Regions from separate parts of the Homo sapiens genome. Here all the other regions are linked to region 7. Evidence: promoter capture Hi-C in 16 types of primary human blood cells and fetal thymus (Javierre and others, 2016). All regions are on one chromosome and are shown on one strand. Each heading gives the region's core, a stretch centred on a gene start or on the middle of the fragment in contact. The rest is flanking DNA. Distances are from core to core; before and after follow the strand shown.

Region 1 (3,711 bases), core at 703-3,202, 3.2 Mb before region 7:
ACCTGGCCTGTTATAGTATTAGTGTACCCCAGTGAATCCTATCTCCCAGTACCCATATCCCTGTGTAGTTTCCTTCTATAATGACTTTAGAACTGGTCATATGACCTGCTTTCATCAATGAGACATTAACAGATGAAACACATTAACAGATGAAACACAAACATAGGTATGAAAAGAGCTTGCCTTCTCTGACTGGAAACAAGCTGTCCTGTGAAAAAGTCCAGCGTCACCTGCTGAAGACATGAGGACTCAAGCCATAGCCGGCACTAACAGTTTGACATTGAGACAACGTGATTGAAACCATCTTAGACCCTGGCCCCAGTAGAGTCAGCCTTGAGATGACTGCAAAATGACCCCAGAAAAGACCAAGAGAAAAAAAAATGCCCAGGTGAACCCAGCTCAAGTTGATGACCTACAGAATCATAAGAAATAATGTGGTTTAAGAAGTCTGATGTTTTAGGTCACTAAATTTTGGGGTTCTTTATTCTGGAGTAATACATAGATACAAATCTCAAAATAACTTCAAGGTATGAAGTACTATGCACTTGAAAAGTGAGGAAACAGAATCGTAAAATATATGAGTAACTTACTGGAGCCAGTTAAGTGACAAAACTACTGTTTGAATCTAGGTTGTCAGACTCCAGAACTTTTAACTATGCCCCTACAGTAGATAAGAAAAATGACCAAAACTGACAGATTAGCAATGAGGTCATTATACAGGGAAAAATGAATGACTTTGGGGTCTTAAAAAAGTGGAGAGAGCTGCATGAGAATTTGATCGCCAGATTTTGAAATAAAGTCATGTGACTATGCTTGGTACACTAAAGAGGTAATACTGCCTAACAGAGTTAAGGGGGATCATTTGAAGACACTAGCATAGAGTGACACCCCCTCATCCTCCCCACCCCGCCAAAGCCACTAAGAAAGATATAATACCCTGCCTCTCACCTGACAGAAGGTGGTGTTCCTGAGATTCATAATTGAACTGGATCTCCATGGGCTGCAACTGGACACCTCAGTGTGCAAGTGGAGAATTACCATTTCCTCTGTAAGCTTTTCTTGTCCACATAAAGGTCTGGGACCTGGAGGCAACTGGGCACCACTGGGCTTGGAAGGGAATCATTGTGCTGACTACAGATGTAATCTCTGAGACTAGACCACCAGAAAAATCCTCAAGATATAAAAGAAGGAGAAAACAAAAAATCTCATTTGACTTCCAGTTGCTTTTCTCTCAGAATGTATTAGGCTTCCTCCCCATCATCCAAGAGCCAGGGATTAACCCACTTAAGACACACATTCCCCATTCCAAGTCTAGAGATGTTCAAACAAAATTAGGGGTTAATGCTACCAAAAAAAGGTATAACTGGAAAGATAACGCAGAGAGGGGAATTTTACAGTGAATTCTAGTGGTTAACACTATGTTATTCGCTGCCCTTCCTATCCAAAAATGACACTACTGATCATTTTTCTTCCTTTTGCTTTTACAACATTCACAAATTCAGGTGGCTCTTTCCCAGTACGGTAGGCTGATTCGTATGGATGCACCACGGTTGGTGACTCCCCCCACCCCACAGAGTTTCTGGCGTTCATTCGGTTGAACCCAAGGCCAGCAAGGGCTGACTGGGAACAAACCGAACACTAGGCCGTGAACCAATCGTCTCTCCGTGCCCGGGAGCGACCCCGGGGGCCTTCACTCTCCAAGGACTCGAGAAACCATGCACAGTTTCCTGCTCGTTAGGCAAGATCACCCGGAACTCCTCTGCTATCCGCGAGCCGACATCACCCTTACCTCGACTTGGTCACCGGACCGCTGTGAAGCCTCACACCCGGCGAACCTGCCATCGCCCTGTCCGCTCTAGGAATCTGGGAGGAGTGCTCAGCTCTATGGCGCTTCACCGCGCAGGCGCAGGGCGGGGGTGGGGCACCGGGTGACGGAGGGCTGCCGAGAATTAACCCCCGAACCGCCGCGAGCTGTCCCTAGCAGTGCCTTAGCCAGGGACCTGCTTGGCCAGCGACAGATCCTTTGCTGCTCTGTCTGCCGGTTCTTGAGGTGAATGTCGGAATCCATTATCTTTCGGGAAAGCTCTCTGGGGCAGGGTAGGTTTTCTTACTACATACAAGTTCTTAATTAGTTATCGTTTTTTAAATAACCACCCCTCCCCCTATCGCTTATCTGATTCGTAGGTATGCTTTAATTCTAACTTTCTTCCTGTCCTCTCTGGTTTTTCACACCCCCAGAAGAGTAGCGCGCATCAGAATCACCTGGAGGCCTTGTTAAAATACTGACTTCTGCCCCACAACTCCGGAGTTGCTGATTTAGTAGTGGGGGAGGGGGCGGTGGCAGCCCAGGTTCTCAGGTGATCCTGAAGCTGTTGGTCCTGGGACCACATTTTGAGAACCACTGCCCAAGAAATAAGTGATGCTCAGTAATTAATCCCTGAATTAACGGAAAGTTGGATTTTTATCTACTTTGCAATCTAGAAAGGGTACGAGGTCTATTTAAGGTTTGCTTGCTAGAACAATTCTCACTGATCAGGGTGAGAAGGACCCGAAATGGAGGGTGCGGGGTAATCAGGGTAGGAAAGGATATTGCTGTGTTCATGGAAATATCTTGGGAAATGAGGAGTTGGGACCTCATTTCTGTTGAGACCAATGAGACGTGTGACTTGGTTTAAGCTGTCCGGTGGGGAAAGGAAGAGGTTTGAGAAAATGGTGGGTGGCTAAGTGGTAGTTGAGGTGGAGGAAGAGGGCTTCCTGTCCCAGCCCAAGTCCCTGTTGGGATATATGAAATTTAGGGATGTATGACTAAGCCCTTAATATAACCGTAAGAGGAAAGAGATGTGGGAACTTGAGTCCAACCCTCCCAAGTAGGGAGTGCAGATAGTTTTAAAAAAACAGCTTTCTTTTTGGCCAGGCGCAGCTTAGGCCTGTAATCCTAAAACTTTGGGAGGTTGAGGCAGGTGGATCACCTGAGATCAGGAGTTGGAGACCAGCCTGGCCAACAAGGTGAAACCCTGTCTCTACTACAAATACAAAAATTAGCTGGGCATGGTGGTGTGCGCCTTTAATCCCAGCTACTTGGGAGGCCGAGTCAGGAGAATCGCGTGAACCCATGAACCCAGGAGGCGGAGGTTGCAGTGAGCCGAGATTGCGCCACTGCACTCCAGCCTGGGTGACAAAGCGAGACTTTGTCTCAAAACAAAACAAAACAAAACAAAACAAAACAGCTTTATTGAGGTATAACTGACATAAACAGCAAATATTTAAAGGATATAATTTGATAAGGCTTGTTAAATGAATACAGCTGTGGAACTATCACTGCAATCAAAATAATATGTTTATTACATCTAAACCCCAAAAGTTTCCTCCTGCCCGTTGGTAAGCCTCTCTCCCAATGCCCCCTCCACTGGTCAGCTGTTACTAGAGATTAGTTTGCATTTTCTAGATATTTATTTAAATGGAATCATACAGAATGTCCTTGTTTTTGTCAGAGTTGTTTCACTAAGCTTTTATTTTGAGATTTATCTTTATTGCTGTGTGTATCAATAGTTAATTTTTGTTGCTGAATAATATTCCATTGTATGTATATACCACAGTTTGTTTATCCAATCACCAGTTCATGGGCATTTGGGTTATTCCAGGTTTTTACTGTTACAAGTAAAGCTGAGAACATTCATGTACACACGTCTTTATATGGACATATGCTTTTTT
Region 2 (3,974 bases), core at 346-2,845, 3.2 Mb before region 7:
CCACCTTGGCTAACTCCTCCTCATCCTTCAGGCCATTTCCCCCATTTCCTTATCCAAGGCTGAGTCAGGTGCTCCTTAAGGTCACATAGGAGCATTCCACTTTCACTGCCTGTCTGGCTGCCTTGCCCATTAGACTGTAGAGACTACAGTCTTGTTTTCCACTGTATTCCTAGTTCCTGGGACAAAGTAGGTACTCAAAAAATAACCTTTGGGTAAATTATATTCTTTCTTCTCATGCCTATCTAATTCCTGGCCTGCCCTGGGCTCAACAAATCATTGATGAAGCCATTTCCCCACCTTTCCTGCTGCTCTGTCACTGTTCTTTATTGGGTCAGTTTTTTTTTTTTTTTTAGTTCCTGAGACGAAGTGCCTCACACAGTCCACACCAGCCCCATAACCTGGCACACTAACAATCAGATGCAGTGACAGAGCCTGGGTTGCTATATTCATGACACTTTCATACAAAATGAGGTTTCAATGTTACATTCCCACTTTTCGTATTTCCTGAGTATTCCTAATAAGAGAAGAGCTGGAAGTAATGATTCTTCTGTATTCTGTTCTGATTAGTCACAGGAAAAGCTTTCAAGGGACACTTTACATTAGCACTGGGAAATGCTGCACAAAGCAAGCTAGACTCAAGACCTAGTATTTTATAACCTTTATGGAGTTTTGCTCCAAAGTAAACTCTTTTGACTAACAAACTTAAAAATCTGACTGAAGTATTTACACTATTCACAGTATTCACAAATTACTTTATAGTGTGGACTCTTTGATGGCGCATAAGGACCGATCTGTGCCTGAAAGCCTTCCCACATTCATTACATATATAAGCTTCATCCCCAGAATGAATTCTCTGATGCTGAACAAGGGCTGAGCTCCTTTTGAAAGTTTTGCCACATTCATTACACTGATAAGGTTCCTCCCCACTATGAATTCTCTGATGTCTGATAAGGTTTGAGCTCAAACTGAAAGCTTTTCCACATTCACTACATTCATAGGGTTTCTCTCCACTATGTATTCTCTGATGAGTAATCAGCTCTGAGCTCTGCCTGAAAGCTTTTCCACATTCATTACATTCATAGGGTCTCTCTCCTGTGTGAATTCGCTGATGTCTAATGAGTTTTGAGCTCTGGCTAAAGGTTTTCCCACATTCATTACACTCATAAGGTTTCTCACCAGTGTGAATTCTTTGATGTATAATGAGATATGAACTTTGACTGAATGCTTTGCCACACTCATTACATTTACAAGCTTTCTCACCAGTATGGATTTTCCGATGTCTAATGAGGGCTGAGCTCTGATTGAAAGCTTTCCCACATTCACTACATTCATATGCTTTCTCACCACTATGAATTCTCTGATGAATAATAAGATAGGACCTCAAACTAAAGGCCTTCCCACACTGGTTACATTTATAGGGCTTTTCTCCAGTATGGATTCTCTGATGTTGTGTTAGAGAGGAATGCTGCTTGAAGCTGTGCCCACATACATCACATCTATAAGGTCTCTCTTCTGGAGGAACTTTCTGACACATTATAGAGTCTGTAGTTAGAATCAAGCATCTTTCAGCCTCATCATAAAGGTCTCTCTTTCCTAGAGATTTGTTTGTGAAGATCACTTGACTAAAACTGCCCCCTTGGGAAGGAGATCTTAGTTTCTCCCCTGTAGCACTTCCTTGCTTCCACACTAAATTGCTTTCATGCTCACTAATTCCTCGAAATGAAGGTTCCTGAGGGAGTCCCTGTGATTTTTCTTCTGAGATGCCCTCTTTTGTTGCTGTTTCACTGTTCTCACAATCTGAAACAATAAGTAGCAAAAAAACAGATATTACATTTCTCTTGTCACCGTCAAAACTTTCTACATGAGAGAAAACAGAAGCTTCTACCTACAAAGATGTCACTGTCCTCCAGTATCTTTTTTTTCAACTGGCCAAAAGAGGGTCTCTCTTATCTAATAATAAAGTCTACATCTACACTTCGAATTCCATCCTTTCCTGCCTCTTTTGAGACATCAACTGATAAATTACCTACAATTTTTTTCTACTATTTACAATCTCTTTCTCAACTGATTCCTGTTCATCAGCTTTTAAATAAGCTTAAGTGTCTCTCACCTTTTAAAATCAACCTTCTTGCCTACATATCTCCCTCAAGCAACCTCACTCTCTCTCAAGTGGTTTCGCAACCTCACTCTCTCATAGTGATTTCTTGAAAGAGTTGTCTGCAGCCTTTCAAGTGAAAGTATCCTCATTCCACAATCTGGTTTCTGCCTTACTGTCCTCCCCCGCCCCCCACCGCCCCGTCCCCTACTTCCACTGATACTACTCTCATCAAGATCACTTCATAGCTCTTTAATCCACTAAGTACTTTCTAGATTATTACTTAGCCTCTCTGTAGCATTGACACTGAGGATCACACCTTCCTTCTAGAGACATTCTCTTCCAGTGATATTAGCCTGATTTCTGTGGCTGTTCCTTCTTAGATTCTAGGGTAAATCACTCAAACACGAGCGTTCCTCCAGATTCTGTTTTGGGCTCTCATGTATCCTTACTCTACAAACTCTCTACCCTTGGCTTCCATTACATCTTACATTGTAAGCTATTGTCTGACTAATGTCTGCCCAGATCCCCAATTATATCCATATTTTATTAAGCTCTAGAGTCTTATGCTAATTGGGCATTTTACTTTTGAATATTTCACAAGCACCAAATGTACCAACCTAAACACATCATCAGATGTATCTGTTTTTCCTTATGTTTTCTCATTCACATGAACAGTACTACCATTAACCAGACTGTTGAAGACTGAAACCTCAGTATCATCCTCAACTCCTCTCCCTCACACTCTAGTTTTAATAATTACCAGATGTTGCAAAACAACTTAAATGCTGTTGAACAGGAGTCAGCTTTTATGTTCTCCACCGCTTACCATAACACATATTGATTGAATACACTGTGGCCACTTGGATTACAGCAGTCTTTAATAGGACTATACTCTTGCCTTCCTTACATGATTCTCCATTTGCAGCTAACTTCTAAACTGCAAATCAAACTATGTCACTCCTTGTCCAAAATCCTTCAACTGCATCCCACTGCACTTAAGAAACTATACAAACAAATTAACATGACATACAGGTCTTCATGACTTGGATCCTATTTTCCTCTCTGGTTCTTCTCTTACCACCTGTCAATTCTCCATTCAAGTCAAATTAAACTACCTGCAATTTTCAGAATGGGTTATATTCTCACACCTTCGGGATGGTATGGCCTTTACTTGGGCTACTCCTCCTCCCACCTATTTACCTGGCTTTCTCTTACTCATAGTTCAAGTCTTAGCTTAGATTTTCTTCCTTCAGGAAGTGTTCCTTGATCCTCTAAGATTGGGTTAGGTGCCTTTAGATGTGCTCCAACAGTACCCACTGCCTACTTATATTCTATAATTTACTACATTGCAACTGCCTTTTTATTTGTCCATCACCCACCTAGACCTGAAACCTCTCCTGGGGCCTACCACAGTACCAGACATGTATTGACGCTTTATAAAGTTACAACATAATGAAATGAATGAATGAATAACAGGGAAACTCACACAGGAGGGCTGACAGCAATTCATGAGGGGTGAATACAAAGCCGCTAAAGCGAGCACCTCTGGTTTAGAATAATAAAGGTGATGCTCACATGTGGCAAGTTTGTCAAGTGCAATTAATTCTGCATTCTCAAAAACAGAGGCCTAAGTGTCAAGAGTTTCCAGATGATTTCCCATTCCTCACCACTTTTAGGGGAAAGGCATGGTTTCCAGGATTTCAGCTGTGTCTTTAAGGGCTGGAGGTGGATGTCTGTTGACTCTTGGGATGCTCTGAGACATGTTAAATCCTTCCATGGCACTGCTGGTCCCTGTGGACTAGCTGGGACCTGAAATCAGTAAAATATGGTTAGCTTTGTGAGAAAATCCCTAAGAAAACTTGCTTAGTAAAAATCT
Region 3 (3,451 bases), core at 51-2,550, 3.9 Mb before region 7:
CTTTTAAAGGACTTTCACTTTTATTAATCCAGGAGAGAGCTGGTGATGGCCTGGAGCAGGGTAGTAGCAATGGATGTGGTGAGGAGTGGAGTGCAATGGCGCCATCTCCGCTCACTGCAACCTCCACCTCCCGGGTTCAAGAGATTCTCATGCCTCACCCTCTCGAGTAGCTGGGATTACAGGCGTGCACCACCATGCCAGGTAATTTTTTTGTATTTTTAGTAGAGACAGCGTTTCGCCATGTTGGCCAGGTTGGTCTCGAACTCCTGGCCTCAAATGATCCGCCCGCCTCTGCATCTCAAAGTGCTGGGATTACAGGGGTGAGCCACCGCTCCTGGCTGATTTTGGCTACATTTTAAAGCCAACAGGATTTGCTCGCATACTGGCCTGGGGGAGGAGAGAGAGTTAGGGAGTCAAGAATAGCTCCAAGGTTTTTGGGCTCAATAACTGTAAGGGAAGAATGGAATTATTTACTGAAATGAGAAAAACTGGAGGATCTTGTTGGGGGTTAAAGCTCAGGTTTTGGACATATTAGCTAAGTTTGAATTACTAGACATTGAAAAGAATTTGTCAAGAAGACATTCGGATATATGAGTCTAGAATTCAGAGGAGAGGTCTGCGCTGAGTATATACATTTGTAAGTCCTCAGTATATGGTATTTAAAAGCCATGAGATTGGATGAAAAACTGTCACCAAGGAAGCGAGTGTGCCTAGAAAAGAGGTCCAAGGGCTGAGTACTGGGCCACGACAATACTTAAAGCTTGGGGAGATTAGGAGGAACCAGCAAAGCAAATCGAGAAGTAATAAATGAAGAGGTGAACTACGTAATGACCTAGAAGCCAAGGGAGGAAACTATTTCAAGACTGATCAATGTGTCAAATGCCGCTAACAAAGCAAGACAAGGCACATTAAAGAATTTGGATTTTTCACGAAACCGAGACACATGCGGGCTTTGTTGTTGTTGTTTTTATGGAGGGAAGTGAGTCCATCGGCCTTATTTGAGCGTTGTGCGGAACAGAGGAAAGCGGGGCGACAAGAGCCCAAAGCACAAGAGACAGGCGTTCTTCTTACCGTGCGACGAAGTGTAGGCCCAGCTGTAAAAGAGAAAGAGACTTGTGAGGAGCAAAGGAACACCTACCCGCTCGCCTCCCGCTTCCCCTCCAGTCCTCTTACAGGAGGTAGCGGGCTTGGCCCGGGCAGCTGTCGTGCAGTCCCCGCGCTGCAGCCTCAAGGTAGTGCTTCTGTCTCATCGCCGCCGCCGCTGCCGCTGGCTCGCCGCGGGAACCAGGTGAGAAAATAGGGCGCCGGAAGTCGGCTTCCCAGCGTCCCCGTCGTTGGTGTCCGGACTCAAGCTGCTTCCGGAAACAGGCACCGTAGGCAGACAGGTTCCGGTTTCCTTCGCGTCCAGTCTGGCTTGGAGGCGTGCCCAGCCGGGAGGCGGCCCCACCCGCCCGCCGCGTCCCCGCCCCCTCAGTTCCACCCCTTGGCCTGCCGGGTCCTCTCAGGCACCCAGCGGAGTTTCGAGTCAGACTTGAGCTCGGGCGTAGCGGCTAGACCGGGCTGTGGCGATAGAGTCCAAAGGTGAGGCTCCCACCCGCCTCTCCATCTTCCTCCCGCCTCGCCTCCTCTCTGACAGCCCTTTTGTGATTGCCCTGCCGCAGCTTCGCCCTCCACATTCGCCGGGCGCGGTACTGACTGGTGCGCCGGCGGGCGGAAGCGCTGCCAGCAACGAGGCGGCCGGGAGGAGCGTCCCCAGTCCAGCCTGCCCTCCGCCTGCGTAAACGCTAGCGTTTCTCTTTTTGTAATTAAAGTGAAATTCACATAACGTAATATTGACCATTTTAAGGTGAACAATTCAGTGGCGTTTAGTAAATTTACAATGTTGTGCAAGCACCATTCTGCTATTTCCAAAATATTTCGCCGAAGGACAGCCAACTCCATGAAGCACTTACGGCCAATCCTCCTCTCCCTCCCAGGCCTTGGCAACCACCAGTCCGCTTTCTGTCTCTATGGATTTACCTATTCTGGGCATTTCATGTAAATGGAATCATACACACGACCTTTTGTGTCTGGCTTCCTTCACCTAGCATAATGTATCAGGTTCATCCACCTTGCAGCACGTATCAGTACTTCATTCGTTGTTATGGCTGAATAATATTCCATTGTATGGCGGTATCACAATGGTTTATCCATTCATCAGTTGAACGTTTGAATTGTTTCTACTTTTTGGCTGTTATGAATGAATGCCGCTGTGAACATGTGTGTACATGCATTTGTTTGAGTGCCTTTTTTCTGTTCTTCGGGGTATAATACCTAAGAGTAGATCTGCTGGGTTATGTAGTAATTCTGTGCTTAATGAGGGTTCCAGTTTCTCCGTATCCTCACCAACATTTGCTTTTCTTTTTCTTTTTTTTTTAAATCTAGCCTTCCTAGTGAGTATGATGTAGCATCTCATTGTGGTTTTGATTAACATTTCCCTGACTACTGATGCTTTTGAGCAGCTTTTCATGTGCTTGTTGGCAATTTATGTATCTTTGGCTGTTTAAGTTCTTTGCTCATTTTTTATTGGAGTTGTCTTTTTGTTGATAAGTTGTAAGGTTCTTTTAATGTGTATGTTCTGGATAGTGGACCCTTATTTAGCCTGCTTTATTTATTTATCTGAGATGGGATCTCACTCTGTTGCTCAGGCTGGAGTGCAGTCGTGTGATCACAGTTCACTGCATTCTTGAATTCCTGGGCTGGGTTAAAGGGTTCTCTTGCCTCAGCCTCCCTAGTAGCTGGGAACCAGGCACACTACCATGCGTAGGTATTGTTGTTGTTGTTGTTGTTGTTGTTATTATTATTATTATTTTGGTAGAGATGGGCGTCTCACTATATTGCCCAGGCTGGTCTTGAACTCCTGGGCTCAAGTGATCCTCCCACCTCAGCCTCCCATAGTGTTAGGATCACAGGTATGAGACACTATGCCCAGCCCATTTTTAATTTTAAAAGGGAGCTAAATTGGCTAGGCGCAGTGGCTCACGCCTGTAATTCCAGCACTTGGGGAGGGCAAAGCGGGTGGATTGCCTGATCTCAGGAGTCGGCGACCAGCCTGGGCAACACGGTGAAACCCTGTCTCTACTAAAATACAAAAATTTAGCCAGGTGTGGCGGCATGCGCCTGTAGTTCCAGCTACTTGGGAGGCTGAGGCACAGGAATCGCTTGAACCCAGGAGGCGGAGGTTGCAGTGAACCGAGATCACAGCCACTGCACTCCAGCCTGGGCGACAGAGCGAGACTCCGTCTAAAAAAAAAAAAAAAAAAAAAAAAGGCGGGAGGCGGGGGGCTAAATTATATAAAGATTTGTAAAGAGAAAGTATATATTTACATCTCTATAGGCATTTTAACTTTTTCCGAAGAAAAGTTATTTTCCCTGCTCTTCCCACCTTTCCATCCCACTTCTCTGAGGCGAT
Region 4 (3,851 bases), core at 1,201-3,700, 4.0 Mb before region 7:
TAGTCCCAGCTACTTAGGAGGCTGAGGTGAGCCACGATCGCACCACTGCACGTCAGCCTGGGTGACAGAGTGAAACTCTACCTCTTAAAAAACAAATGAACAAAAAAAGTCATTTCTTGATTATAAACATGTCCACTCACCTGATTATCCTCTATTTCCCAGTGAATCACTTGATTATCAGATCCTCCAGAAACTAATTCAGTAGAAGGGGCTGAAAAAAATTATATCTCAGTAAATATCTTTATTCATTTTTTCTGCAATTTTTAAAAATTTCCAAGCTACACCAAAAAACAATACCCCTGTACCCTCTACCTAGATTCACAAACTGGTAACATTTTGCCATATTTGCTTAATATCTCACTCTTCCTCTATATACATACACACACACCTTTTAGGAGGCAAACTACTTAAAAATAAGTGGCAGACACTGTGATCTCTGATCCTCAAAGACCATATATCTCCTAAGGACAAAAACGTTCTCCTATATTACCTCAATACAATTATCACATTCAAAAATTCTAACATTGATAAGTATTATTATATAATATACAGTCCATATTAAAATGTCCCAATTCTCTCAGTAATGCCTTTTAAAACTTTTTTTGTTTGGGATTCAGAATCTAAGGAAATACACTCAACATTTGGATATCAAATCTTTTTAGTCTCCTTTAATGTAGAATAGTTTCCTAGTCCCCCTCATTTTTGTGACAATGACAGTACCCAGCACTTGTTCTGCAGAATGTCCCTCAATCTGTTTGATTGTTTCCTCATGATTAGATGCAGGCTAAACACTCTTGGCAGGAACATTATATGAAACATTGTAGTCAGGTGCTACTACCAAGAATATGACTTATTGTTGAAATTAGAGACACACTTCAAAATAGATCTTTTAAATACTTGCAACTTCTCAGTGATAACAAAAGAAAAAGTAGTACCAAAAAAGGGGCAAATAACCTAATTTGGGTTTGGATTTTCTTTTTATTTGTTTCAGGGAAGCAGCTGGACTAAAGAGCATTAGATTTGAACTCAGAAGGCCCAGGTTCATGTCCTAACTCTGCTGCCAGCCAACTGTGATCATGGGCTTCAACTTCATGTGTCACAGCAATTGAGCCACTTAACTAACTATATGATTTTAAGAATGTCTATACATAAAAGTAATGTTAAAATTCAGACATATTAAAAATACAAAATGATATTAAAATTTTATATATCACCGATAAAGGGTTGGAAAGGCTATCTGCATTATCTGGCAGTTCAATGAAAGGAAATCAATCATAATAGTTATAGATTACAGTAATACACAAGCAATCCATTTTATGTAACCTCACTTTTAAACGGAAGATAAAACATACAAGCCTAAATTAACATTTTATAACAAACTCCTATACTGAAAGTCAGTCTTTGATGTTATCTGGTGGCAATTAATATAATTGCAATTATGTTTTATTATCCATACTAACAGGCATCCCTTGTACCATTTAATGATTTTTATTGACCTAACATGTGACTAATCCTACAGAAGCAAATAAGTAGCTTATTAAAACTTTTTTAAACATCATTTATAAAATCATAGCAAAGTCTTAATAATTCAGAAAATTTTGCATTTGTGCCTGGCTCAAAATGCCCTCAAATGAGTGTGTAATGAAAAATAAAACTAATTCAGAACCCATATCAAAACTACAGTAGATATATTTAAGATAACTAAAGAAATATCATAGGATTTTGGGAGCACCATCTAAAGGCAACTAATATTTTAACTGAAAATTCTGGAGTCAGAATCTTAGAGATGAAGAGACCTGGAGATAATCTTGTCCAGAAATTTTCATAACTTTTGGTCTTAGAATTCCTTTACAGTCTTACAATTTTTGAGGACCCCAAAAAGCTTTTGATTATATGAACCATATGTACCAATATTAACCACATTAGAAATTAAAACTGAGAAATATGAAAAATATGTGTTTAACCATTTACTTAAAAATAACAATGGGTTCTATGATGTGTGAACATATATAACATTTTGATGGGGAAAAACCCCAATGGTTTCCAAAACAAAAACTTAATGAAAGAGAGGAACTATTTTACATTCCTACAAATCTCTTTAACATATGATTTTATTAGAATATAGCTGGATTTTCATATCTGCTTCTGTATTTAATCTGCTGCAGTATCATACATCATGTGGCTGCTGGAAAACACTGTACATTCATGACAATGAGAATGAATACTGTGAATAACTTCTTGATATCATTATGAAAATAATTTGATCTCATAGGTCTTACAAACCTCTAAGACACCCTTGATCTAGTCCAATCTCTTACTTCTCACATGTTATTAAGGTGCAAACTAGGGTCAATAGAGATGCAATGTCTTGCCTAAAAAAGCAATAGCTGGCCGGGTACAGTAGCTAATCCTGTAATCCCAGCACTTTGGGAGGCTAAAGAGGGAAGACTGCTTGAGGTTAGGAGTACGAGACAAGCCTGGGCTACAGAGCAAGGCAGGAGAATGGTGTGAACCCGGGAGGCGGAGCTCGCAGTGAGCCGAGATCTTGCCACTGCACTCCAGCCTGGGTGACAAAGCGAGACTCCATCTCAAAAAAAAAAAAAAAAAAAAAAAAAAAAAACCCCTAAAAAACTAGAAAGGCGTGGTGCCACACACTTGTGGTCCCAGCTATTGCAGAGAACTCTGATGGAGCCGCTGCATTCCAGCTTGGGCAACAAGTGAGAGATCCTGTCTCTTAAAAAAATAAACATTCTAGTCTCCAACTAGTTGGCAAAAAAAAAATAAATAAATAAATAAATAAGTAAATAAAAGAAAAAAGAATAAAAAGAAAAACCAATAGCTTGTTTATGGCAGAAACAGACCAAGAAACCAAGTCTCTAAAACACAGCCTCAGTCTAGGCCCTGCTTACAAGTTCTTTTAATAAAGGTTACAGGCAACTGGGGAGGTGGGACAGGATCCTGCCAAAGTCTAGGGCTGCACTACCCTCATCCTAAGCACTGCTGTATAATCCAAGCTTCAACTGCTACGAAGTAAAAATACAGTTCAGATATTTCACTGGGAATACCATTTTTCTTGTTTCTCCAATTGCATAACATCATATAAGGTAATGCTAAATTAAGAGAAGTGATGAGAAAAAAATGGCTAACCTTATTTTATCAGAAAACAATTGAGATCAACTTTAAAATCTGGTTAATACTTACAGCCATCCTGTTTACAAATCCACTGTATGCAATTGACTCGGGCGGTGTGACCATTCAAGTTGGTAACAACAACCCTTTTCTTTAGAGAAGAAAATACAGTTAGTAAACTGGAATTTATCCTACAGAAAAATTAATAAATAAGTAAAAACAGATTTCAGTGTTTTCGATGCTAGTAAAAAGATCAGGTTTACATCAAACAGATTTGCCTTCTTCAATCTATAAACTTTTAACCATGGCTTAAGTCATCCATTCCTCTAAATCAGTCCTGCCTTTCTTGAGACTCCACATTCCCAGCATCCTGTCCTCCCATTACACTGAGCTCTCGCGTCTGCATCCACCCACCTGCTTCTGCTCACTCTCCTACAGTGCCCACATCCTTTTCACCTAGGCAGCCTGTCCTGACACACCAAACTAGACAAGCAGCTGCTTCCTTGTGGAAGTAGGCCTACTATGCTTGCACCAATCTGAGGGTTTCTCTGACCAAAAGAAAAAAAAAAAAGCCCTCCAATAGAAGAATCTGTGATTAATGGGTACAAGCACAGTTCACTTTGCATGCCAATGGCCAATGAGACGGTGGGTTTTTCAGACCCAGTGGCACAATGTCACAAGGCCACAACTACTAAGGTCCTCACACATCAGATTCCTGCAGG
Region 5 (3,778 bases), core at 156-2,655, 4.0 Mb before region 7:
AGAAGATGGGTAATGCAGTGGAAAAGACTCTGAATTTGTAGATTTTAGAGGGTCTCAATTGGGCAAGTTTCTTATAACTTCTGCGTTGCAGATGCCTTACCTGAAAAGGAGAGATTTAGAGTAAGTCACCTAAAGTCCTTTCCTATTCTATGATTATATGCCCTAATGCAGTGTCTTTGTTTTGCAAAACATTTGATAGTGTTCCTGTAAATGAAGTAAACTTTTTTGAGATGTCTGTCACTAAAATATTCAGAATCAGTTCATGTATGCAGAGCAACTTTGTAAAAAATTATCCTAGTGCGACTGAAAATAAAAAATTTCATTTGCTTAGTCTGAGCTTGTACTTTAATTCTTAATTCATTGGGTAGAGTGGACACTCTTCATTATTGTTGCAAACATCCTGATGGATATGATGGTTTTTTATCAAGTGTTAAAGGTTTTAACCGTTATTAATCAAAATAGACGCTTGCTTACTGAACCTTGTGAAAGCTATATGATGTATGTACGTAACAGCCAAAATGTGAGCCAAAATGTTGGCTGTATATAATGGAGACAATCTGTCCTTGTATATTGTTTGTGGTTATGAAAACGTCACCCATCCTTGAGAAGAAATTGATTTACAGCCTTGTTTTTCAGTTTATGTGTAAGTATGTGTGTATTGGCCCTGAATGAGGAATTCATCTTCTGTGAGTGGACGGAAAGGTTTCAGAAACACTGATATAAAGGTCTGGAAAGTAGCTGTGAACTTTGAAAAGTCAGGAATTAGCTTTGCTTTTACATTTTACTAGATTTCAGAATCGGTAACAGGTTTATCTTGTTTTTTGTTTTTGCAGAGAGCATTTAGAAACACATGTAATCAGTATAGGGTTGATACCCAGACTCTCTTAATAACTATTACAAATCAGTAAAAAAAAAAAATGGCAGTACTGTTTATAGGCATTTCACGTGAGGAAACCTGAAAGGTCAATAAATGATACTTAATCTTACAAATCAGGAAAAAGTAAGCCAGTGAGGTACCACTTTATGTTCATCAATTTGGCAAAATAATATGACAATATGGATAATTGTTGCAGAGAAACAGGAACTCTTATACCACTTGGTGGGAATGTAAAAATATGTAACTATTTTGTAGATCAACTTAGTTGATGAAGTTGGAGGTATATATTAAATATATCCTTTGACCTAGCAGTTTTCTTTCTAGGAATATATTCTAGAAATAAGTATTGTTCTCAAGAATTGTTTATTGCAGCTTCATAATAACAAAATTGAAAACAAGTGAGACCCTGCCTGTGCAACATAGTGAAACCTTTTCTTTACAAAAAATAAGAAAACAAAAAAACCATTCCATTAGTTTGAGAATGGACAAATAAATTGTGATATTAATAAAATGTAATACTATCGAAAAGTTCTCACGAATGGACTAGAGCTGCATGAAACAACGTGACTGAATTGAAAAACAAACAAAATCTTGAGCTAAGAAAACAAGGTACAGACGAATAATGCTATGGGGGTAAAGTCTAAAAACATGCAAAACAGTACTTCTTTTGTTTATAGATACCTATATTAAAATATGCATAGTAGTGATTAACACCATATTCCAAGATAGTGGTTGTCATAGTGTGTCCAGAATTGGTGGGTTCTTGGTCTCGCTGACTTCAAGAATGAAGCTGTGGACCCTCGCGGTGTTATAGTTCTTAAAGATGGTGTGTCCGGAGTTTGTTCATTCTGATGTTCAGACATGTCTGGAGTTTCTTTCTTCTGATGGGTTTGTGGTCTCGCTGGCTTCAGGAGTGAAGCTGCAGACCTTCACTGTGAGTGTTACAGCTCTTAAAGGCAGTGCGTCTGGAGTTGTTCCTTCCATCCGGAGTTGTTGGTCCCTCTCGGTGGATTCGTGGTCTCGCTGGCTTCAGGAGTGAAGCTGCAGACCTTCGCGGTGAGTGTTACAGCTCATAAAGGCGGCAGGGACCCAAAGAGTGAGCAGCAGCAAGATTTATTGTGAAGAGTGAAAGAACAAATCTTCAACAGCAGGGAAGTGGACGCAAGCGGGTTGTTGCTGCTGGTTTGGGTGGCCTGCTTTTATTCTCTTATCTGGCCCCAGCCACGTCCTGCTGATTGGTCCATTTTACAGAGAGCTGATTGGTCCGTTTTGACAGAGTGCTGATTGGTGCGTTTTATGATCCTTTAGCGAGACACACAGCACTGATTGTTGCATTTACAAACTTTTAGCTAGACACAGAGTGCTGATTGGTGTGTTTACAAACCTCTAGCTAGGCACAGAGCACTGATTGGTGCGTTTACAAACCTTGAGCTAGACACAGAGTGGTGATTGGTGCGTTTACAATCCTTTAGCTAGACAGAAAAGTTTTCCAAGTCCCCACCTGACCCAGAAGCCCAGCTGGCTTCACCTCTCAATGGCACTCGCCGCGGGACTTTGCGGCACCTAGCTTGGGCACTCTAGCAGCCCAGAGGGAGCTCGTCCCCCATCAAGCCCAGCAGGCACCCACCCGGAACCGCGCGTAGCCCAGGCTCCTGCCGGCGCCTCTCTCTCTACACCTCCCTGAGAGCAGATGGAGCCGGCTCCGGCCTCTGCCAGCCGCAGAGAGGGGCTCCCACAGTGCAGCAGCGGGCTGAAGGGCTCCTTGAGCACGGCCAGAGCAGACGCCGAGGCCGAGGAGGCGCCGAGAGCGAGCAAGGGCTGCTAGGACGTTGTCACCTCTCAATAGGAGAAAGCTATCTAATATTTAATGTATTTAAGAAAATGGTGCAAATGTGGTAAAATTGTAAGATGTGCTTTTAGCAAGGTTTGTGATGTTTCCATATGTTTAAGTGTTTCATAAGTGGAAAACGTTAAAGCATATAAAAAGATGCTTTAGGAGGAGGGTGGTAGTGATGATAGTGTTGATAGTAACGGTGATGCTGATGAACATACCGCTGCCGCTTTAATCCTCATATTAGCCTGGGCTACTCTGCCAAGGGTTTCCTTTTCTTGACAGATGACTGCTTTTGCAGGGTGTAGCCTTTGTGTCCTTCCCCTTTCCTGCAGTTTTGCTCATCAACTTCAGGATTCTCATCTCCTGTAGTTTAATGATAATGGCAATCAGTTACTGAGTACCAGACATTCTTTTAGTTATTTTACCATATCTTGAATCACATTATTTCTGCAGAATAATTATGAAAGGAATCGATCAATCTTGAAAGTATATTACAACAAACTAAAGAAAATTAGTTGAACATTTTGTGTTAAGCTAGGCATTCTTTAGTTTCTCAAAGTGTGTAAAGACAAAAATGTGAGAGTGGGAGAAGCTACTGTTTAAAATAAAAGAATGAGCTGGGTACTGTGGCTCATGCCTGTAATCCCAGCACTTTAGGAGGCTGAGGGAAGTGGATTGCCAGAGCTCAGGTGTTCGAGACCAGCGTGGTCAACATGGCAAAACCCTGTCTCTACAGAAAATACCAAAATTAGCTGGGCATGATGGCGCAGGCCTAAGGAGGCTGAGGTTGGGGGGTCACTTGAGCCCAAGAGGTTTAGGCTGCAGTGAGCCAAGTGCGCCACTGCACTCCAACCTGGGCGACAGAGCAAGGCCCTGTCTCAGAAAACAAACAAACAAAAAAATATAAGAATGAATAAGTAAAATTATATATGTTAGATAATGGTAGCCATTCAGTTATGAAGGTTTCCCTTCTTTTCCTACCTTCCTTATCTTTGTCTCCTTTAAAGAAAGAGTTTCTGTTTGGAGGGATAAACTTCAAGGCCTTTGTGAAGACCAAAATGGCATAC
Region 6 (3,883 bases), core at 440-2,939, 3.3 Mb before region 7:
CTGTCTCAAAAACAAAACAAACAATATAATCACAGGAAAAGGGTTTTGTAAAATTTTGCAACATTTTTAACTTCCTCAAGGTTAGGTTTCAGATTTATTATTTTTGTTTTCCAACATTAATTAGATGTAAAAACTCTTAAAACAAAAATGCCTTCAGCTAGCCTTTACAAATCAGATAAGAGGGAAAGGTTGGGAAGAGCAGCCAAGTTGCTTAGGGGCCGTATCCAAGTAGCAGAGTGAAAAGGCTGTACTTCTGAAGCTTCCTGCAATGGAGAGAAGTGTTAGCAGGGGTTGTGAGAAGAGCTCTGGTCGGAATGAAAAGCAGTGGTATACCATCAGCTGCTCGCTCACTTGCTCTCTCATGCACGAATCCAGCGGAGCCTGACGGCACTTTTCAGAGGGCATTTTCTCCAATGAGGCAAAAAGTCAAAGCCTGAGGATCTTGAAATGCTTATGTTAGGCTGGATCTACACTTTTGACCAGTCCTTAAACAACAGGGCTCCTTTGTGTGGTGTCTGATGCCAATCATGTGACCTAGCTAAAGGCAGCAATGTAACCATCCCACAATTCATTTATTTATTCAACAAATATTTATTGAGTTCTCTATTTACCAGGCAGTCAGCTTCCAGGATCTAGGATGGGATACTGTGGTGAGCAAGACAGACAAGGTCCCTGCCCTTAAGGGACTTAAAGACAAAACAAAACAAAAAATAAAACAAGTAAATAAATGAGATCACTTCCATTAATAACAGTGCCATGAAGGGTCATGCGCCATGAAAGGCAGGTGGTGAGGCTGAGGATCTTGGGCCACAATGAGCCGAGGAGCTGAGGTGACTGGGGGCGCCAGGGTCTGGGGGTGCGGGCAGGCAACAGACCACAGGGGACTTACAGGCCATTATAAGGAGTTTTTATGTCATAAATTATTATGACATAAATTGGAGGGCTTTAAATAGGGGAGTGAAGTGGTCTGATTTGTAATTTTAAATGATCGCGTCAGCAGTTGTTTTATGGTATAAAATGCCCAGCTTTAAGATGACCATGCATTCTACAAATTCACCGTGACATCACTGCCAAAACTCTTAACCTGTCTTATCTAGTTTTCCTGACAGATAAATAGGTCGGAATAAAGCTCCATGACATAACTAGTGGGAGCCAAAGATTTGAATCACGTCTTGGTTTCAAATCTTGCTACCCACAAATGAGTTGTGAGCTCTTGTCAGGTTATTTACTGTATTTGTGCCTCAACTATCTCAGCTGTGAAATGGGGATAATGAAAGTTCCTACATCATTTATTTGTGGAAAAAAAAATGACATGTAAAGCACGACGAGAGCGCCTGGCACAATGTAGTAAGCTTTCACAAACACTCACTTTCATTCCTTCTTGCAGGGGATTACTGAGAGGATCCACAAGATAATGCACGTGAAAGGGCTTGCGAAATTGTAAGGACTATCTTAATGGTAGAGTCCTCTTTATGTTTTCTTTTAAACGGTCCAGAGGACGCTGGGCTGTTCGAGGAGAGGCGCGAGGCCAAGCGCAGCCTCAATGCGGTCATTGTCGTGGGGCCGCCCCTCCCCCGCCCGGGGCGCTTCTCCATGGCAACGTGGGCTTTACCTCTCCCCGCCTCCTCAGGCCCGCAGACCGGAAGCAGCCCGCGCCGGGGGCTTCTGGGAAAAGGCTTGTGAACGGCGTTTCTGCGTCTGCCGTGGACAGCGAAGCTGCTGCGGTTCCTGAGCCGGAGGTTTGCGCCGGTGTGCGGGGAACGTTATGAGAGGGAGGGGGGACACCGGGCTAGGGTCTGCGGACCTCTTAGCAGGAGCCGGCGGGGAAGCCTGTCCGGGACCTTCCTCAGCTTCCCGGGAGGCGCGGGGAACAGGCCGCGGTCTCCGCGCCTAGCAGTTGTGGGGCGGGGAGGGGTAGGCGGCAGGCCTGCTTGGGTCTTCGGCATTTGCAGAGAGCTCTCTAACCCCCTGTGTCCTCCGAGACCCTCACCTTCCCCCTCCCCCACCGGCCGGTTTTGTTCTATTTCGAGGCCCTGGCGTCTCGCGGAGGGTTCTGGGAGTCGTGATGGGAGGGGGTGGTAGTGGGACGAGACTTGCGCGGGGCTTCTGGGATTTGTAGTCTCACCGGCCGCAGGCGGAAGTGCCGTGGTTCCGACGCTGTTGTCACAGGGTGGCCTTTGGTCATCTGAAATCCGCGGTCCTGAGTGCTGGGAAGAGGGGCTAGAGGACGTCGGGCCGGGGCCGGGGCCGGGGCCGGGATACACAGCAGGTCTATGCAGCAGTAAGGTGGGCGATCCACCTGGGACGAGGTACCCTGCCCAAACATTGTCGGGACCGTGGGCCTTCCCTCCATTTCCCACAAGCGGTATGCTCTACAGCATAAAAGGAAGAGAAAATTATGTAGAAATACTTGCACCGTTGATAAGCAGGGTCTTGGAATAGGAACGAATGAATGTTGGCTAGACCTTATGTATAAGGCCACCACACTCCAGGGTATTTAATTAAACCAGTATGTATTACTTGTCTGATAAGGCCTTTTCTGATTCTAGTCTTCATCTTGCTTGGGTTACAATAAGTTTTTTTAAGTTGTTATTGTTCAGATTTTGGGCCCTGAATAAATAAATAGGCTGAATGGCTCATTGCTAGTATGTGTCGTAAACAACAGCACGGGCATGATCGTGCAAATAATAAAGGTCCAGAAGCAGTATACAGTTTCACTGAAGGTAGAAGCTGGGGAAACTGTGAGTCCTCCAGTGTAAGGACAAGACACTGGACCACTGCAGGAAGTCAAGGTGCTTATGCGAGTGCCTTTTCTTAATAGAAGTTTCTGTGATTAATGCCTATCATTATAAATATAAATGTACGTATGGTGTGGTGGAAGACTGAATATTTACGTATTATGTGCAAGATAATTTTTCAAAATTATGTGATGTTTTTCACATATGATCTTTTCAATATTATGTGATCTGCTACTCAGCAAGTGAACATTTTTTCACATATAAGTCCAAGGAGTTCTTAAACACCTTAAAAATATTTTTTAAATGGTAAAGAAAATTTTTTTAAGCACATAATAATAAAGCGAACCTTCCTTTTGAGTTGACTTGTGTGTGTCAGGAAACACCAATCCTGAATTGGAAATAATGCGTTCCAGGGTCAGGCACATTTAGAAAGCACTGAAGTAGTCTGGTTCTTACTTGGATTCTTTTGATTATTGACATAGGGTTTGTCGTCTTAGTAGGTCATGATTGGCAAACTTTTTCTGTAAGCGGCCATATAGTAAATAAGGTCATGCATAACTCAACGATAGTGCTATGGTCTGAGAAATATGTTAGGCTATTTCATCCTTGTGTGAACGTCATAGAATGTACTTGCACAAACCTAAATGGCGTAGCCTACTACACACTTAGGCTATCTGGTATAGCCTATTGCGCCTAGGCTACAAACCGGTACGGCATGTTGCTGTACTGAATACTGTAGAGAATTGTAACACAATGCTAACTATTTGTGTATCAAAACATAGAAAAGATAAGAGTAAAATATGATATAAAATGTTTGAAAAAAAAAAAAGATATGCCTGTACAGGGCACTTACCATGAATGGACCTCGCTGGATTGGAAGTTGCTCTAAGAAGTCAGTGAGTGAGTGGTGAATTTGGAGGCCTGGGACATTATTGTACATTCCTATAGACCATATAAACACTGAACACTTAGGCTACACTAAATTTATTAAGAAAACATTTTTCTTCAATAATTAACCTTAGCTTACTGGAACTTTTTCACTTACAAACTTTTACATTTTTTTTTAACTTTTTTACTCTTTTGTGATAACACTTCACTTAAAATACAAACACATTGTACAGCTGTACAAATATATTTATATCCTT
Region 7 (3,991 bases), core at 250-2,749:
AAACTTGAAAGCAGGGCAGGTCGCGGGGCGAGCGGGCCCGCGCGAGCACCGCCGGCCGCTTTTGACACTCGACACCCCAGCCTTCACCCGGGTTGCTAAGAAACAAAAAGGCTCCAAGATCCCTGCAATTCCTCCCGGGCCTGGCGGAGACGACAGGGGCCTCCGGGGCCTGAAGACGCCGCAGGGAACGGCCTGGCCACTGCCCCGGGGGCGCGAAAGCCAGGGAGAGCGGGAGAGCGGGAGAGCGGGAGAGCGGGAGAGCGGGAGCTTGGGCTGAGGGGGCTGGACGCGGGGAGCGGGCCCCGAGGCTGAGGAAAAGGCCGCCCCGGGACTCTGAGGGGCGGGGAACGGGACCTCGCGGGGCAGCGACGCTCGGGCAGGCCGCGGCGGGCTCGGTTCCCGCCAGGCGGCAGCCCGGGGTCCCGGGCCGGAGGCCGGGCCTAAGCGACAACCCGGCTCCGCGAGGGGGAGGGGGCGTCTACTCACACGTGCTGACAGGCCGTGGTCCGCACGGGCGTTTTGAGCACCTCCTGACAGACGGGGCAGTAGAAATCATCTTCGGTGTAGGACGTGGCCGCAGAGAGGTCCTCGGCCATGGCGGGGGATGGGGAAACAAGGCGATGGCGACAGCGGCAGCGGCCGAGGTGACGGTGGCGGCCCGGGGCCCGACTCCCTACATGAACCCGGAGGGGGGAGGGGGATCGCATCAGGATACAGCGCGCGCCAGGAAGGGGGCGGGGCCCTGGGTAGGGCGGGGCCGAACGCAGAGACGCTACTGCCGCACGCGCCGGGCAAGAGGCGACCCCTCCCACGGCTCCTCCCACAGGGGGCTGGATGGGGGACGGTGCTTGGCGGGAGGCTGGGCTCGCAGCATGCCGTGGGCCCGCCCCGCTCGCCCCTCACCCCGCCCCAGGACGCGGCCTCACGCTCTAGGCCACGCCCTCACCGGGCTCCAGGCGCGGGCTCGCGCCCCGCCCTCAGCCCCCGTCTTCGCCCAAGGCCTCCCTTTTCACTGCTTTTCCGCCTCTACTCACCCCGACCCCGAGCCCCGAGTGCCCAGCCCGTGTCCGCGGCTTCCTCCCCGCCCCGCTTCCCGGCACCCCGGCCCCTCCACGCTTCCGCCGGGGAGACTCTCACCTAGGAGCCCCGAAGCGGCGTTGTGGACGGAGCTGCTTTTCCTTCACGTGTTCGTAGAGACCCGGCCCAGCGCTTTCCTCGAGCTTCCTGTCCGGCCGCCGCTATCTTCGCAGCCGAGGCCCCGGGGCAAATGGAGGGCGGCGTGCGCTGTGCTTATCGGCCCCTAACGGGGCCGGAGCCGAGGCTCATGGTGCAGGGAGATTCGCCCGCCGCCGCCAGCAGCTCTGTCTTGGCATTGCGCTGCCTACAGCCTACCCGGCCGTCACCGAACGCGGGAGCGCCGGGGATCTGGGCGGAGGAGCCAGGAGAGGCGGGGAGGCACGGGGTGTGAAGTGCGGCCTGTATAGCAACCGGCGCACGGCGCCTTCCGCGGGTTGTGACGTAAGCAGCTGGGCGCCCGCGGTGACACCTGCGCCTCCCCGCCCCGCCTCGCTAGGCCCGGGACCCCAGTTACCTCTCCTGTCAAATACATTGGGCCTTTCAGGAAGTTTTCGTCAATGTTCAAGATTTAGTCTTTACTATTTGCCCTACCAGAATGTTTTGATCTTGTCAAGATGTGTTATAAACAAATATTTGTTACGGGATTTTAATCCTTTGGGGGCAGGATTAAAGTTTCCTTGAGAGGATGTCCACTTTCTCCTTTAACAGCATGACCGATGCTTAAATACGGTCGCAGATGCAGTCTTCTACTACACCTTTGGGTTGATTTTTGATTTTTTCTTTTTTTTTTTAGCTTTGAAGAGAAATGCCGTAGAAGCATGGACGTGGCTTTTCACCAAGGTTATTCACTAATTTAAGTGTTTTTTTTAATTTTATTTTATTTTATTTTATTTTTTGAGACAGGTACTCACTCTGTCTCCCAGGCCGGAGTGCAATTATCTGTACAATTGATAATCTATAAGATGGTCCAACCTGCGTAACAGAGTGAGATTCCGTCTCAAAAAAAAAAAAAAAAAAGAAAGAAAAAAGGCCGGGCGCGGTGGCTCACACCTGTAATCCCAGCCCTTTGGTAAGCGAAGGCGGTTGGATCACTTGAGGTCAGGAGTTCAAGACCAGCCTGGCCAACGTGATGAAATCCCATCTCTACTAAAAATACAAAAATTAACCGGACATGGTGGTGGGAGCCTGTAATCCCAGGTACTCGGGAGGCTGAGGCACGAGAATCGCTTGTACCCGGGAGGCAGAGGTTGCAGTGAGCCGCGATCGCGCCGCTGCACTCCAGCCCTGGCGACAGAGTGAGACTCTCAAAAAAAAAGAAGAACAAAAAAAGGATAAATCGATAAGATGGGATCCACAATGACGTGAAAGAAGCTAAGGAAAATCTGGAACATTATACAGCATCTACAATTAGCTTCAGAGAAAAGAAAGGTTTTATTACCATCCTTTGTTAAAACCCTCCCCCATGGTCTAAATGAATAAACAGAAGCCATTTAAGGGACTATTTAAATCAATTCTGCCATTTATTGTCTATGTTGACATTGGCATTGTTAGGTGTTATGCAGATGTCATGAACTTTGCTCTCAACCTGTTTACATTATTACATATCTATCAGAATGAGAGAGAAAAAATGGTATTTGCCAAAGTATTAAATTTTGCATTAAACGATGGCTATAATGAGGATAGGAAATGGAATGATTAGAAATATATAGAGTTAACAGAAAACTTTATGGAGGAAATGGGTTTTAATGTACATCTCAAAAGCATTGATTCCTAGAATAATAATAATTTGTCCAATGAATAGCTAATTCCCTCTACCAAACTATATTTTGTATTTTTGTTGCTTTTCCTCCTTAGCAGCAAGCGCAGTGGAAGCAAGACAAGAAAGCTAATACTAGCTTCAGATTTCCTGGAAGGAGGAAGAGCACGTGACGAGAGGGGCAGCTAATAGCAGTAGTTCAGGTGCTTTTCACATTCACTTATAAAATGGTTCTTTGAGTTCAAATTTTTAACAGCCCAGAGAAGAAAACTCACTTTTTTTCTTTTTTCTTTTGAGACAGAATCTCACTCTGTCACCCAGGCTGGGGTGCAGTGGAATGATCTCAGCTCACTTCAACCTGCGCCTTCCAGGTTGAAGCAACTCTCCTGCCTCAGCCTCCCAAGTAGCTGAGATTACAGGCATGCACCACCATGCCAAACTAATTTTTGCATTTTTAGTAGAGACAGGGTTTTGCCATGTTGGCCAGGCTAGTCTCGAACTCCTGGCCTCCAGCGATCCGCCCACCTTGGCCTCCCAAAGTGCTGGAATTACAGGCCTGAGCCACTGTGCCTGGCCTACATTTTACTTTTTTGATAATTCCACTCATTTCATTCATTCTGACCATTTAGGAAGTAAGGTGTATTTTCTGTATAATAGTGTTTCCCATTATTCATTGGGAATATCTAACCATAACATTAATTTTGTGACCCTAATTTTATTTGCTTCATTCTTTCTCTGCAACGGCAGCTTTACTTATGTCTAATCCAAACATATTTGTATCACTCCCCCATATATTCTAATAAGTCATTCGGTATACACGTAAGCATATAGCTGGCAATATGTGGAAATCCAGCAAAAACTTGGACATAAGAAAAATATAGATACCCTTGGAAAGTTAAGCTTAAAAAAATAAGTTGCAATTACCAATGACACAATCTTCTTTCTTGGCAACATTTCTGGTGAAAAGCTACTTGATATTTTTATAAGAATGTCATAGATTTACTCAAAATACATTCAGCTGCGTAAATAAAATGTCCTCAGCCTTTGGTCATTAGAAGGGAAAACCCTAGATGTAGACCGATTTGGTAAACTGTGCTGCAATAATTTAAACAGTTCCTTTAAGTTTGGGTTAAACCAGTCAGTCCCTCTCAGTGGGCT

The links. The method cuts DNA at HindIII sites, captures the fragments that hold promoters and counts their contacts. A CHiCAGO score of 5 or more calls a contact.
Region 1: the fragment with the promoter of ZSCAN30 here is called in contact with the fragment with the promoter of RNF138 in region 7 in 1 of 17 cell types (activated CD4 T cells); the score reaches 5.5 in activated CD4 T cells.
Region 2: a contact is called between a fragment that was not itself captured here and the fragment with the promoter of RNF138 in region 7, in 1 of 17 cell types (non-activated CD4 T cells). The highest score is 8.2, in non-activated CD4 T cells.
Region 3: the fragment with the promoter of RMP24 here is called in contact with the fragment with the promoter of RNF138 in region 7 in 3 of 17 cell types (activated CD4 T cells, total CD4 T cells and non-activated CD4 T cells); the score reaches 7.9 in activated CD4 T cells.
Region 4: a contact is called between a fragment that was not itself captured here and the fragment with the promoter of RNF138 in region 7, in 1 of 17 cell types (non-activated CD4 T cells). The highest score is 5.4, in non-activated CD4 T cells.
Region 5: a contact is called between a fragment that was not itself captured here and the fragment with the promoter of RNF138 in region 7, in 1 of 17 cell types (non-activated CD4 T cells). The highest score is 6.1, in non-activated CD4 T cells.
Region 6: the fragment with the promoter of ZNF24 here is called in contact with the fragment with the promoter of RNF138 in region 7 in 1 of 17 cell types (total CD4 T cells); the score reaches 5.4 in total CD4 T cells.

The regions. Positions count from the first base shown.
Region 1 is chr18:35,288,470-35,292,180 of GRCh38, reverse strand. It overlaps ZSCAN30 (zinc finger and SCAN domain containing 30), which reads left to right and starts at 1,952. Exons shown (of 4, transcript NM_001112734.4): 1 at 1,952-2,097. It also overlaps the pseudogene ZNF271P. RefSeq lists an enhancer at 1,676-1,835. The HindIII fragment of the contact is 2,453 bases long and covers 1,056-3,508 here.
Region 2 is chr18:35,243,085-35,247,058 of GRCh38, reverse strand. It overlaps ZNF397 (zinc finger protein 397), which reads right to left. Exons shown (of 4, transcript NM_001135178.3): 3 at 3,766-3,907; 4 at 1-1,797. The coding sequence ends at 749. Among named protein-coding and RNA genes, the nearest start is that of ZNF397, 4.0 kb to the right of the region's middle. The HindIII fragment of the contact is 570 bases long and covers 1,311-1,880 here.
Region 3 is chr18:35,970,528-35,973,978 of GRCh38, reverse strand. RMP24 (ribonuclease MRP subunit p24) reads right to left here and starts at 1,300. Exons shown (of 5, transcript NM_031446.5): 1 at 1,174-1,300; 2 at 1,072-1,094. The coding sequence starts at 1,250. LOC105372066 (a long non-coding RNA gene) reads left to right here and starts at 1,528. Exons shown (of 4, transcript NR_188032.1): 1 at 1,528-1,581. RefSeq lists an enhancer at 618-1,510 and silencers at 1,430-1,579, 1,519-1,813. The HindIII fragment of the contact is 7,007 bases long and covers 763-3,451 here.
Region 4 is chr18:36,132,667-36,136,517 of GRCh38, reverse strand. It overlaps ELP2 (elongator acetyltransferase complex subunit 2), which reads right to left. Exons shown (of 22, transcript NM_018255.4): 2 at 3,202-3,280; 3 at 141-211. Among named protein-coding and RNA genes, the nearest start is that of ELP2, 4.7 kb to the right of the region's middle. The HindIII fragment of the contact is 1,132 bases long and covers 1,885-3,016 here.
Region 5 is chr18:36,063,016-36,066,793 of GRCh38, reverse strand. The region is part of intron 1 of RPRD1A (regulation of nuclear pre-mRNA domain containing 1A); the gene reads left to right. Among named protein-coding and RNA genes, the nearest start is that of RPRD1A, 2.7 kb to the left of the region's middle. The HindIII fragment of the contact is 5,831 bases long and covers 1-3,778 here.
Region 6 is chr18:35,342,226-35,346,108 of GRCh38, reverse strand. It overlaps ZNF24 (zinc finger protein 24), which reads left to right and starts at 1,689. Exons shown (of 4, transcript NM_006965.4): 1 at 1,689-1,749. It overlaps LOC124904283 (a long non-coding RNA gene), which reads right to left and starts at 2,055. Exons shown (of 2, transcript XR_007066337.1): 1 at 1,370-2,055. RefSeq lists a silencer at 1,462-1,631 and an enhancer at 2,312-2,371. The HindIII fragment of the contact is 2,541 bases long and covers 1,355-3,883 here.
Region 7 is chr18:32,089,382-32,093,372 of GRCh38, reverse strand. RNF138 (ring finger protein 138) reads right to left here and starts at 1,499. Exons shown (of 8, transcript NM_016271.5): 1 at 1,138-1,499; 2 at 487-673. The coding sequence starts at 596. It overlaps LOC124904278 (a long non-coding RNA gene), which reads left to right and starts at 1,428. Exons shown (of 2, transcript XR_007066327.1): 1 at 1,428-1,518; 2 at 1,871-2,098. It also overlaps a transcript of RNF125 not described here. RefSeq lists a silencer at 661-1,080 and an enhancer at 1,751-1,800. The HindIII fragment of the contact is 10,157 bases long and covers 1-3,735 here.